Linked DNA regions of Homo sapiens: region 2 is linked to region 1. Evidence: promoter capture Hi-C in human tissues and cell types (Jung and others, 2019). All regions are on one chromosome and are shown on one strand. Each heading gives the region's core, a stretch centred on a gene start or on the middle of the fragment in contact. The rest is flanking DNA. Distances are from core to core; before and after follow the strand shown.

Region 1 (5,227 bases), core at 939-3,438:
TAAGCACTTTTCACACATCACCTCATGACACTCTATAAGGAAGCTGTTATTACGGTGTCTATTTCACAGTTGAGGATAGTGAGAGATGAAGCGGCTTGCCTGAGATGCAACAGTCAGGAAGCAGCAGAACTCAAGCAATCAGACTCCAAGGATGGTCTTCAACACCATGCTCACCTACCCCTCAATTTACATGTGCTTGTTGAATGAATGAACGATGACACGTTTTCACCTCCCCAGCTAAGTAAATTAAACAGTTCTCTCCCAATAAACATTAGCAATCACTAGTATTGGACACTGCTTCCTTTCCCCACATCTGCCTTCCATCATTCGCTCCTCCAGGGATTTTGGCTTTCACCCCTCTCTTCTCTCCCCTCCTGAAACCCATTCAGCCCCTCATCATGTCTAGGTGTTTAGTCTTGTTTTCCTTTTGAAACATCTGTCAGATTCACTCCTTCTCTGTTCTCAATCGCTGTCATCCTGGTCTGGACCTCATCCCTTCAGGCCACATGACTTTAGCAGCGTCCTTACTGGTTTTCCTGACTTCAGTAACTTAGTCCTTTGGGATCTTGAGGTTTACACACATTTTTATTTAACCATCACAACAACCCATGAACTAGCTATTATTATTTATGTTTTATAGATGAGGAACTGAATGATAGAGCCAAGGTTTAAACGGGGTTTGTGTTGCTCCAAGGACTGTGCCAGCTCCAGACTGGTGACCTTGGGCAAGTCACTTAACCTCCGAGTCTCAGATTTCTCATTTATAAAATGGGCATGATAGCAGTAATTATCACATTGTAAGAGCAACTGAGATAACACTTAACATCCTGCCTGACACACACACACAGTAAGTGCTCAATGATTTTCAGCAATCAAAGTCCACAATCCCCATCCACAAATTTCATAGCATATCTAGCATATGAGTTGGTTAATGGTTCTGGGCAAAATGTTTTCTCGAATAGCTCTTGAACCACAGTGAGAGGAAGTTGTCATACCTGGCCCCTTCTTTATTCCTCGAAGGTGTGCTCTCCTGGGAAGCACCATATGCTGTATGAAAAATTACTTTACATGGTTATTTGCAGAATGTACAGCAACAGAAAGTACACCCCATCTGGTGGAAAGTGCACAGAATCTGCAGTTCTGCCCTGTCCAGGCTGTGTGACTACAGGAAGTCTTCAAGCCTCTCTGAACTTATTTTCTTATCTACAAAATGAGAAAAATGGATGGTGTGGTGGCTCACGCCCATAATCCCACCACTTTGGGAGGCAGAGGCAGGAGGATCATGTGAGCTCAGGTGTTCAAGGCCAGCCTAGGAAATATACTGAGAGCCCCATCTCTATAAAAAATTTAAAAATTAGCCGGGCGTGGTGGCGCTCACCTGTAGTCCCAGCTACTCGGGAGGCTGAGGCCGGAGGATCGCTTGAGCCCAGGAGGTCAAGGGTGCAGTGAGCTGTGATTGTGCCACTACACTCCAGCCAGGGTGACAGAGAGAGACCCTGCCCCCCAAAAAGGGGGAGGGGGGAATAATACTTTCCCCCAAAGGATACTGAGATGATGCATACACAACCTTTAGCACACTGTCCAACACAAAGCAAGACCTACTTAAAGGATCTGTGTAACATTATAATCAGATACTATGCTTCATTTTAAGTCGAGGACCAGATAGATTTATAAATTACATACTGTCAAAATTAAGTATTAAAAGTAGAGGAAAGGTAAGAGGATTTTGCAAATCAGGTACAACTACAGCTTATCCTGAAAAGCCGACTGCCTAGTTCTGAGGGAACAAGCCACTCCTCACCCTCAAGCTTGAGGAGAGGGCTGTAGAAGCCCGCCCACCTCCACCGCCCCGAGGGCTCCGCCTCCAGGGCCGAGGGACGCAGGCGTAAGCCCCGCCCACTGGGGGGGGGGGGAGAGAGAGAGAGAGAGAGAGAGAGAGAGAGAGAGAGAGAGGAGAGAGAGGAGAGAGAGGAGAGAGAGGAGAGAGAGGAGAGAGAGGAGAGAGAGGAGAGAGAGAGAGAGAGAGAGATATATGCCCTGGTCACGTGAGCGGGGTGCGGAAGTCGTGTTTCAGGCGGCGTTCGTGATTGGCCGCGGCCGAGGGTCCCGGGGGTGGGGTCAGGCCCTCCGACGCTTCGGGAGGAGCCGGGACTGGAGGCTGCCGAGGGGGCCGGCGCCCGAGTCCGGGATTCGGCCAGTGGTGCTGAGCGAGTGCTGGACCAGCGGCCGTCCTGTGCACCTGGCCTGTGCGCGTGCCCGCTGCTCGGCTTCACCCAGACTAAGGCGCGGGCAGCTGCGGGAACAGGCGGGGTGGGCGGAGGGAGACCGGGAGGCACGGGCGCCCTGTGCGCGGAGGAGGTGAAGGCGGCCGGGGCCGGGACGCCATGTCCATGGAGGACCCCTTCTTTGTGGTGAAAGGGTGAGTGTCGGCCGAGCGCTCCACCGGAGGAAGAGGTGGCGGTGCTGCCTGCCCGCACCTCCTAGGTCTTCTCGCAGTGGGGGGAGGGGAGGCAAGTTGGAGCTGGGGAGGGGGAACAGTGGAGACGGCTTAGTCTTGAGGGCCATGACCAAGCGTCAAGAGACGTTCCCTCCATCCCTACCTGGACCGTGAAGCCACTGTCCCCAGCCAAGCCCCTGGTGGTGGGGGGCCCTTTTTGGCCTGTGTGCTGCGGTACAATTTATTTGGGGGCCGAGGGGCTCAGCAGCTCTGCAGGTGGGGAAGGAGACACGCGGGTCCTGGCGCACACTGGCCGTCTAGTCGAGCATGGGATCTTGCTTCGAAGGAGCGAAAACAGCATCTGGGCAGGAAAAGGGAAATGGCCCTCCTGAGCTTTGTAGTTCGCGTTGACGGGGGTGAGCTCCATTGTCCATTGAGTTTGGAGCGCTTGTCCGCAGACTGGCGAGACCACAACAAGCCCAGAGGCGTCTGAGCACGTTTGCTGGGAGGGAGGCGGGGGCGGGGGCCGTTCTGGGAGGCTGGGGAGCAGGGCACCGGAAGACAATTCAATGGGGGAGTTTTTACTGAGTAATGTGAGGAGAGGAAAGCAGTCGTTCATACTCAGTGATGATTTGGAAGGAAAACAAAATGAAACAAGCCAAACCAAACTTTCCTCAGCTTTCTATTAGCAACCGGAATTTTCTCACAGTGCTAAAGGAAATGAGTGTTGCTTGTTAACTCCTTGATTTCATCCAGGTTGTTTGACAGGTTTCTCCTATTTCTTCTGCCTTTCAGAATAGAAAGGACTGCCTTCTGTTCCCTTACAAGCTATCCTAGCTCATCTTTGATTGCTCGATTGTTTCTTTGGAGATAGAGTCTTCAACTGCACTTTGTAATATCCACTTCGTAGCCATTAAACACATGCAAGAAGATCAATTCTGATGTAACTTTTAGTTTCTTATTAGAAACTTGTCAGTTTTCTGTTTTAAATGTCAAACATGAAAAATCTGAAAACTGCAAAGTTCCCAGGTCAGTACTGATCACCACAGAATGTCCCTTGCTTTTTACTAGTTGCTGCTAGCTTCCTATTTCTGTAGTGGTGCAAGCTGGCCGTTGTATAGTCAAGTGTTGTAGAAAATTTAAATGGTATTTTAGGTGAAATACTTTATCGATTATGCAGTAAAATACATTTATACTACTTCTTAATATTTCCCTGGAAAGTTTTTTTTCTTCACCTTACTCTAATTTAGATGGGAAAATGCTGAGTTGTAAATTTACTGGTAATATGTGTATCCCTACCTAGAAAATGTGATATTTATTAGAAGGATTGATTTAGGGGTTAATTTTTAAAATAGATGTTTTTTCCTTGATTGAAAGTTCTTAATGCTTAGGTTGGCAAAGGTTATCTCTGGCGGTAGAGATCAGAGATGATCAGAAATTTTTTGTTTGACTTTTTATGGAATTTGTCAAAAGCCTAAATTCTTCTGTCTTGGCATTTTTTTTTCTTGATGGTATCCTATACAGTCTACTAATGCTTGCTCACTGATTAAATATCACTACTTTATCGGAACATTGGCTTGGAGGGAGTTTTGATTGATTTTTACATCATTTTAGCTCCTATCTTTAAGGTTCTTGAAGGAAAAGAGATTCTCAGTTCCTTCTGCTGTGGAAAGGTAAAGTCACCCATGAAGGTGTATCCAGATTTTTGGGGAGTCATGTACCTGTGTTTATTAAAAGTATCAAAAATGCATTACACAGCATGCAAAAATTAAAGGTGCCTAAATTATGGCCCTTAGCCTAGGAGCTTCTGGTCTAATCTGAGAAACAAATTACCCCAAAATTAAATAGAAATGACAGGTGGCAAATGAATGAGTGTTGAAGTGAATGCTACAGATAAGTGCCTCAGGAGTTCAGAGAAAGGTAACTCCTTGGGAATTGTTAGGATTAGGAGAGCTTTTGGAGGCAGTAGTGTATCTTGAATTAGGTTTTGAAGATGGGCAGAATTTAGATAATCAGGCCTGTCTCTCTTACCTGGATGCTTATCAGAGTCTTTTTAATTGTTCTTCCTGCTTCTGGTCTCATTTCCTCTTTCAGCTGTCCTGGGATCTATTGGATCATTGCTGTCCAATAGAAGTATAATGCCAGCCATGTATGTCATTTTACATTTTCTAGTAGCCGCAGTAAAATATAAAGGAACAGGTGAAATTAATTCTAATGTAATCTCTAATACATTCAAAATATTCAACATGTGATTAAAGATTATTGATGAGATATTTTACTTTTGTACTAAGTCTTCTAAATCTGATACATATTTTACACTTACTGCACATTTAAATTTGGACATTAAATTTTCATCAGAAATAATTGATCTGTATTTAAAGTTCATTAAATACATTTTTTTTTTTTGAGACAGAGTCTTGTTCTGTTGCCCAGACTGGAGTGCAGTGGTGCAATCACGGCTCACTGCAACCTCTGCCTCCCAGGTTCAAGCGATTCTTGCACCTCAGCCTCCTGAGTAGCTGGGACTATAGGTGTGTACCACCTCACCTGGCTAATTTTTGTATTTTTAGGACTATGGGCAGGGCACCCGCCACCACGCCCGGCTAATTTTTTGTATTTTTTAGTAGAGACGGGGTTTCACCATGTTAGCCAGGATGGTCTCGATCTCCTGACCTTGTGATCCACCTGTCTCGGCCTCCCAAAGTGCTGTGATTACAGGCGTGAGCCACCGCGCCCGGCCTACATACTCTTTAATTGTTCCAAACATACATAAAAGGTTTTTGATAACTG
Region 2 (5,343 bases), core at 2,070-4,569, 170 kb after region 1:
AAGTGGGCTGAGGAAAATAATTGTTATTAGGGTGGTTATACAAATGATTTAAGTAAGACTTTAATTTTGCTATATTTTTTGTTTGTTTTTGTTTTGAGATGGAGTTTCACTCTTGTTGCCCACACTGGAGTGCAATGGTGCAATCTAGGCTCACCGCAACCTCCACCTCCTGGTTCAAGCGATTCTCCTGCCTCAGCTTCCTGAGTAGCTGGGACTGCAGGCATGCGCCACCACGCCCGGCTAATTTTGTATTTTTAGTAGAGACAGGGTTTCTCCATGTTGGCCAGGCTGGTCTCAAACTCCCAACCTCAGGTGATCTGCCTGCCTCGGCCTATCAAAGTGCTGGGATTACAGGTGTGAGCCACCACACCCGGCCACTATATTGTTTTTATAATAAAAATAGTACATAGGAATTCCTTTACTAATTCAAGAACTGTTTACTACTGAGTATATACTATAACCTGCATTATTTATTGTATAACTAGAATACTAAAGACTAACTCCAAAAAAACATCTGCTTGCTTGTATATTCAGCAAACAAATACTGAATGTCTACTGGGTAACCTAACTAGGTACATTCTAGGGAATGAGAATATACTGAAGAACTACTAAGGGCCAAGTCTAAAAGAGGAGAGAGAATTTAGTCAAAAACACAATGTATAGGTACAGTTCTGGAACTGTGCATAGAAAAGGAATCAATAAGCCAGGAGGGGAAATAGCCAGGAAAATCTTCCTGAAGGAGGTACTACTTGAGCTGAATCATGAAAGGACTTGAGTTAAACAAGTTTATGGGGCAGAGAGAACCATTTCAAGCAGAATAGAAACCATTCATTCAATAAAGAGTACCTGCACATGCCAGATATTATTCTAGGTACCAGGTACACAACAGTGAATCTTATTTACTAATGGTCAGACAAATTTCCTGCCTCAGTAAAGCCTCCTATTTCGTAGGGGTAGACAATGATCAGATATATAAGTAAAGATGATGATTTCACACAGTGAAAAATACCATGAAGAAAACAGAACAGGATGATAAGACAAAATTCCTTCAGACAGTATTCAGGCAGAAACAGCGTTCAGGCAGAGAAGGTTTCTTAAGTTGGGACTTGGGTACTGACAAGGAACCAGCCACATTTTCATGTGAAGGTGGAGAAAGAGTATATGTAATAATAAAATTTCTAGTAACCATATTCAAAAAGGTGGAAACAGGTAAAATTAATAATATATTTTATGTAATCTATACCTAAAATGTTATCACTTTTACATTTAATATATAGTCAAAATAAAATTGATATCCTTCACAGTTTTTTGTTTCAAACTAAGTCTTCAAGATCCAGTTTGTATGTTATACTTACGGCACATTTCGATTTAGATTAGGCACACTTCAAATGCTCAACAGACTGATGTAGCTGGTAGTTAAATTATGCAACAGTGCAGCTCTAGGTATCTTTGGGGAGATGAGTTTGAGGTGTAAAGATTGAAAGCAGTGTATTAATATGGCTGTGGCAACAGCCCAGTGAGAAACAATGAGGACTAGAATTGAGTATAAGTTTAAGGAACAGAGAGGTAAGGCAAAAATTAAGAAATACTTGGGAACTAAAATTGGCAGGACTTGGTAAATTTTGAAGGTGAGATGAAGGATACAGTCAAAAATAACTCCTAGTTTTTAACCTGGGTGAGTGGCATGGTGCCATAAACTAGGTTAGAGAACATGGGGCTTGAAGCATGCTTAGGAAAAAAAATGAGTTTATTTTTTGACGTGTTGACTTTAAGGTACTTACGAAACATCGAGGTGGAGGAAGCCCAGAAAACAACTGGAAAAAACTAAAAAGCTTCAGATACAGACTGGGGAGTCACACAGACAGTGGTTGCAACCATCAAAATAATTTAGAAGCTCTTTCTATGAAAAGGACAGGCTACAATGAGAGATAAGTCTTCCATCTATAAGGGGAATCACACTGTGTTTGACTACACTTGGTTGAGTTTATTTCCAGTTTTTTTTTTTAATACCAAAGACTCAAAGAGATGAGAACTCTCTGAAATGTTACAGAGCTTCTCTTTATCTCTTAAAAAATTTAAATTCTAATTCTATGTTTGTTTACATTTCAAGGTTTCTAAATATGTGTTAATTACTATAGAGTTATTGTGGTTATAGGAATGGAGACAGTAAGAATAAGAATAGATAGATTACTGTTTTGAGATGCAGGATAGAGAAAAGGAAAAAAGACTAGACCAGATGGCTTAATGAGGTAAGGGAAATCTTTTTAGAGTAGGGGACTCTTAAGCATGTACATAGGCTAGAAGGAAGGAGCCAGTAATGACAAACAGTTTGAAGATTTGGGAAAAACAAGGGACAACTGCCAGAGCTAGATCCTGGGACAAGGGGAAATGAGAGCAGTGCACAGGAGGAAGGACACCTTGTTACTTTAGACTGGGGAAAATACAGTAAAAAGGGGTTTAGATTAAATAAGCATGTAGGGAGAAGGTAGCTGAAGGAAAATGATTCCTGATAGCCTCAATTTTCTTAAGCTAGTAGGAGACAAGGTGGTCTGTAAGAATAAAGAGGAAAAGGCTGAGTTAGGAGCTGAGAAAAGCAATGAAAGTTATAGTAAAACCGTCCCCCCTCCCCCCACTTTTTTTTTTTTTTTGAGACACAGTCTCACTCTGTCGCCAGGCTGGAGAGCAGTGGCATGATCTCGGCTCATTGCAACCTCTACCTCCTGGGTTAAGTGATTCTTCTGCCTCAGCCTCCCAAATAGCTGGGACTACAGGCACACACCACCACACCCGGCTAATTTTTGTATTTTTAGTAGAGACGAGGTTTCACCATGTTGGCCAGGCTGGTCTCGATCTCCTGACCTCATAATCTGCCCTCCTGGGCCTCCCAAAGTGCTGGGATTACAGGTGTGAGCCACTGTGCCCAGCTGTAAAAACCCCTTTTCAAGTTAACATTTTTGAGATAAAAAATTTAATAATATGTTAACAAAGGACAAAATACATTAAAGTTTAGAAAAAAGTTAATCTCTCCTTCCTATGACATTCTTTTCACAAAACATTTTGCTTGTGCTTATACTGTCTTTCATTCTGTATATACACAATTTTTTTCTTTCCTGTAATATTGTATTCTATCTAGCATTGTGAAAAGAATTTAACTTTAGAGTAGAGCAAATTGAATATATATTTGTCTTTTCCATTAAATTGTAATGTCTTTCACAGAAAGATCTCACATCAGCATTTTTCTAGGGCCCATGTACCATGCTGGACATAGTAGGGGCTTAATTAATATTTGCCAAACTGAATTGAGGCTATGTTTCACTCATTTTTGTATTTTCTGCACAATGCTTTACCTTCCAACAAATACTTGGGAAAGGCAACATAGTCTCTGGGCAGCCTACACATATAATGTGTCCCTGAAAACACCTATTAAGTTTGTAGCTCCTAGGCCCTCCAGGCAAAATGAAATGGACAGCTGTGGCAAACAGAAAACTTTAAAACCAGATTCTAAGGCTTTGACAAAGGCAGGAGGTCAGTCACACCTCCACATTCCCTTATCTCATTATCAGCCGCCAAGACTTTCTTTCCTATAATTAAACAGAAACCAGTCCCTAAAAACAATGTGTGCAAGATTTCTTCCCCAACCTCAACAGACCATCTGACACTGTGGCCAAACTCCCCTCCCTTATCGTGCTTTTGCCACGATAGGTGACTAGCCTTACAAAGCATTCCTTTTTGATAAATGACTGCTGATCACAGACTCGTTCTGGCTGGTCCACAGAGACTGAGCACAAGATGCCTCTGTGCTCTGCTCTGTGTTTCACCTTTTGACACAAAGAGCCGAATTTCACTTCACTTTAATGTTAACTGCCTACTCCGAAGTGAACATGGGACATATGTAACATATATGTTTACTCACCACACATTTGGTTTCCCTCATAAATATTCATAAATTCTCCTATAACCTGCTAAATATGTATGCGGAGCTAACCCCACTGGGGATAAATTCCAACCTCTCCCCTTTGTAACTGAAGCCTATGTATTTGGTTTTGGCTGGAAGCTTAGTTTCCTGACCTGCAGATTGTAATCCTTTACAGGAAATAAAGCTTTCCTTTTGCTTCCTCTGCCAATCTCATGGTCTTTTGTTAATAAGTTGAATGTGAAAAAGTTAAGCAACAGACTTATATGAGGATAAGTTCCTGAGAGCTAAAAATAGATAAAGCAAAACCCCTATTAAACTTTCCTTGCCTTTTAGATACAACCTTTAACGGCATTGTTCTAACATTTTGTAGACATCATTTTTTTCCTTTACAACAAAACACAGCTGCTTTTAATTCAATGAGTGTCACAATGATGTTTAAAAGTTGCTGCTTTCTGCATGCCTAATGATTCCTATAGCTGTTTTAACTGTATTACACTTATGAGACATTAAAAAAATTGTGTGTAATATCACCACAGATAATTCCCACTGATTTCAAGAAAAACGAACAAAATACAACAAAATACAAAAAAAAAAAAAAAAAAACCACATGAATGCACTATTATTTGTGCCACAGAAGGTAAGGCTGCCAAAGCTCTCAGTTAGCAGCTAGCAATACCATGCAAAAGCAGGAAATGTTCTCAATCCAAAGGATAATTAAGAGGTAGGGTGTGTGTGTGTGTGTGTGTGTGTGTGTGTGTGTGTGTGTGTCTATAGTCTAATAACAAAATACCCAAACTGTCCAGTTTTCAATTAAAAAAATCACTAGTCATACAAAGAACAAGGAAGATCTCAAACTTAATGAAAAGACAATCAAAGATGTCAAAACTGAGATGATAGAGATGTTGGAATTACTGGACAAAGATCTCACAGCAGCTATGATAAAAATGCCTTAGCAAAGAAACAGTCTCACCAAAGATACAGGAAACACAAAGAAGAACCAAATAGAAATATTAGAAGCCAAAAATACAATAACTGAAATAAAACTCACTGTTAACAGAATAATAGAAGGGACAGAGGAAAGAACTGGCAACTGAAAGATAGAATAGAAATTTCCTAACCTGAACAAGAAAGAAAATAGGTTGAATTTAAAAAATGAAAAGAAGCCAGGCGCAGTGGCAGTGGCTCATGCCTATAATCCCAGTAATTTGGGAGGCCGAGGCGGGTGGAAAACTTGAGGTCAGGAGTTCAAGACCAGCTTGGCTAACGTGGCGAATACCCGTCTCTCCTAAAAATACAAAAATTAACTGGGCTTGGTGTGCGCCTGTAATTCCAGCTACTTGGGAGGCTGAGGCATGAGAAGTGCTTGAACCCAACGGGTGGAGGCTGCAGTAAGCTGAGATTGCACCATTGCAATCTGTGGGGGATAC

What was found. The method cuts DNA at HindIII sites, captures the fragments that hold promoters and counts their contacts. A contact is called where the count stands out against the background at its distance.
Region 2: a contact is called between a fragment that was not itself captured here and the fragment with the promoter of STX6 in region 1, in 1 of the 25 tissues and cell types used here (neural progenitor cells).

The regions. Positions count from the first base shown.
Region 1 is chr1:181,019,831-181,025,057 of GRCh38, reverse strand. STX6 (syntaxin 6) reads left to right here and starts at 2,188. Exons shown (of 8, transcript NM_005819.6): 1 at 2,188-2,419. The coding sequence starts at 2,385. RefSeq lists silencers at 1,907-2,006, 2,127-2,256 and an enhancer at 1,665-2,448. The HindIII fragment of the contact is 9,160 bases long and covers 1-5,227 here.
Region 2 is chr1:180,852,968-180,858,310 of GRCh38, reverse strand. All of the region lies in intron 11 of XPR1 (xenotropic and polytropic retrovirus receptor 1), which reads right to left. It overlaps LOC124904464 (a long non-coding RNA gene), which reads left to right. Exons shown (of 2, transcript XR_007066760.1): 2 at 1-5,343. Among named protein-coding and RNA genes, the nearest start is that of LINC02816, 51 kb to the left of the region's middle. The HindIII fragment of the contact is 5,147 bases long and covers 746-5,343 here.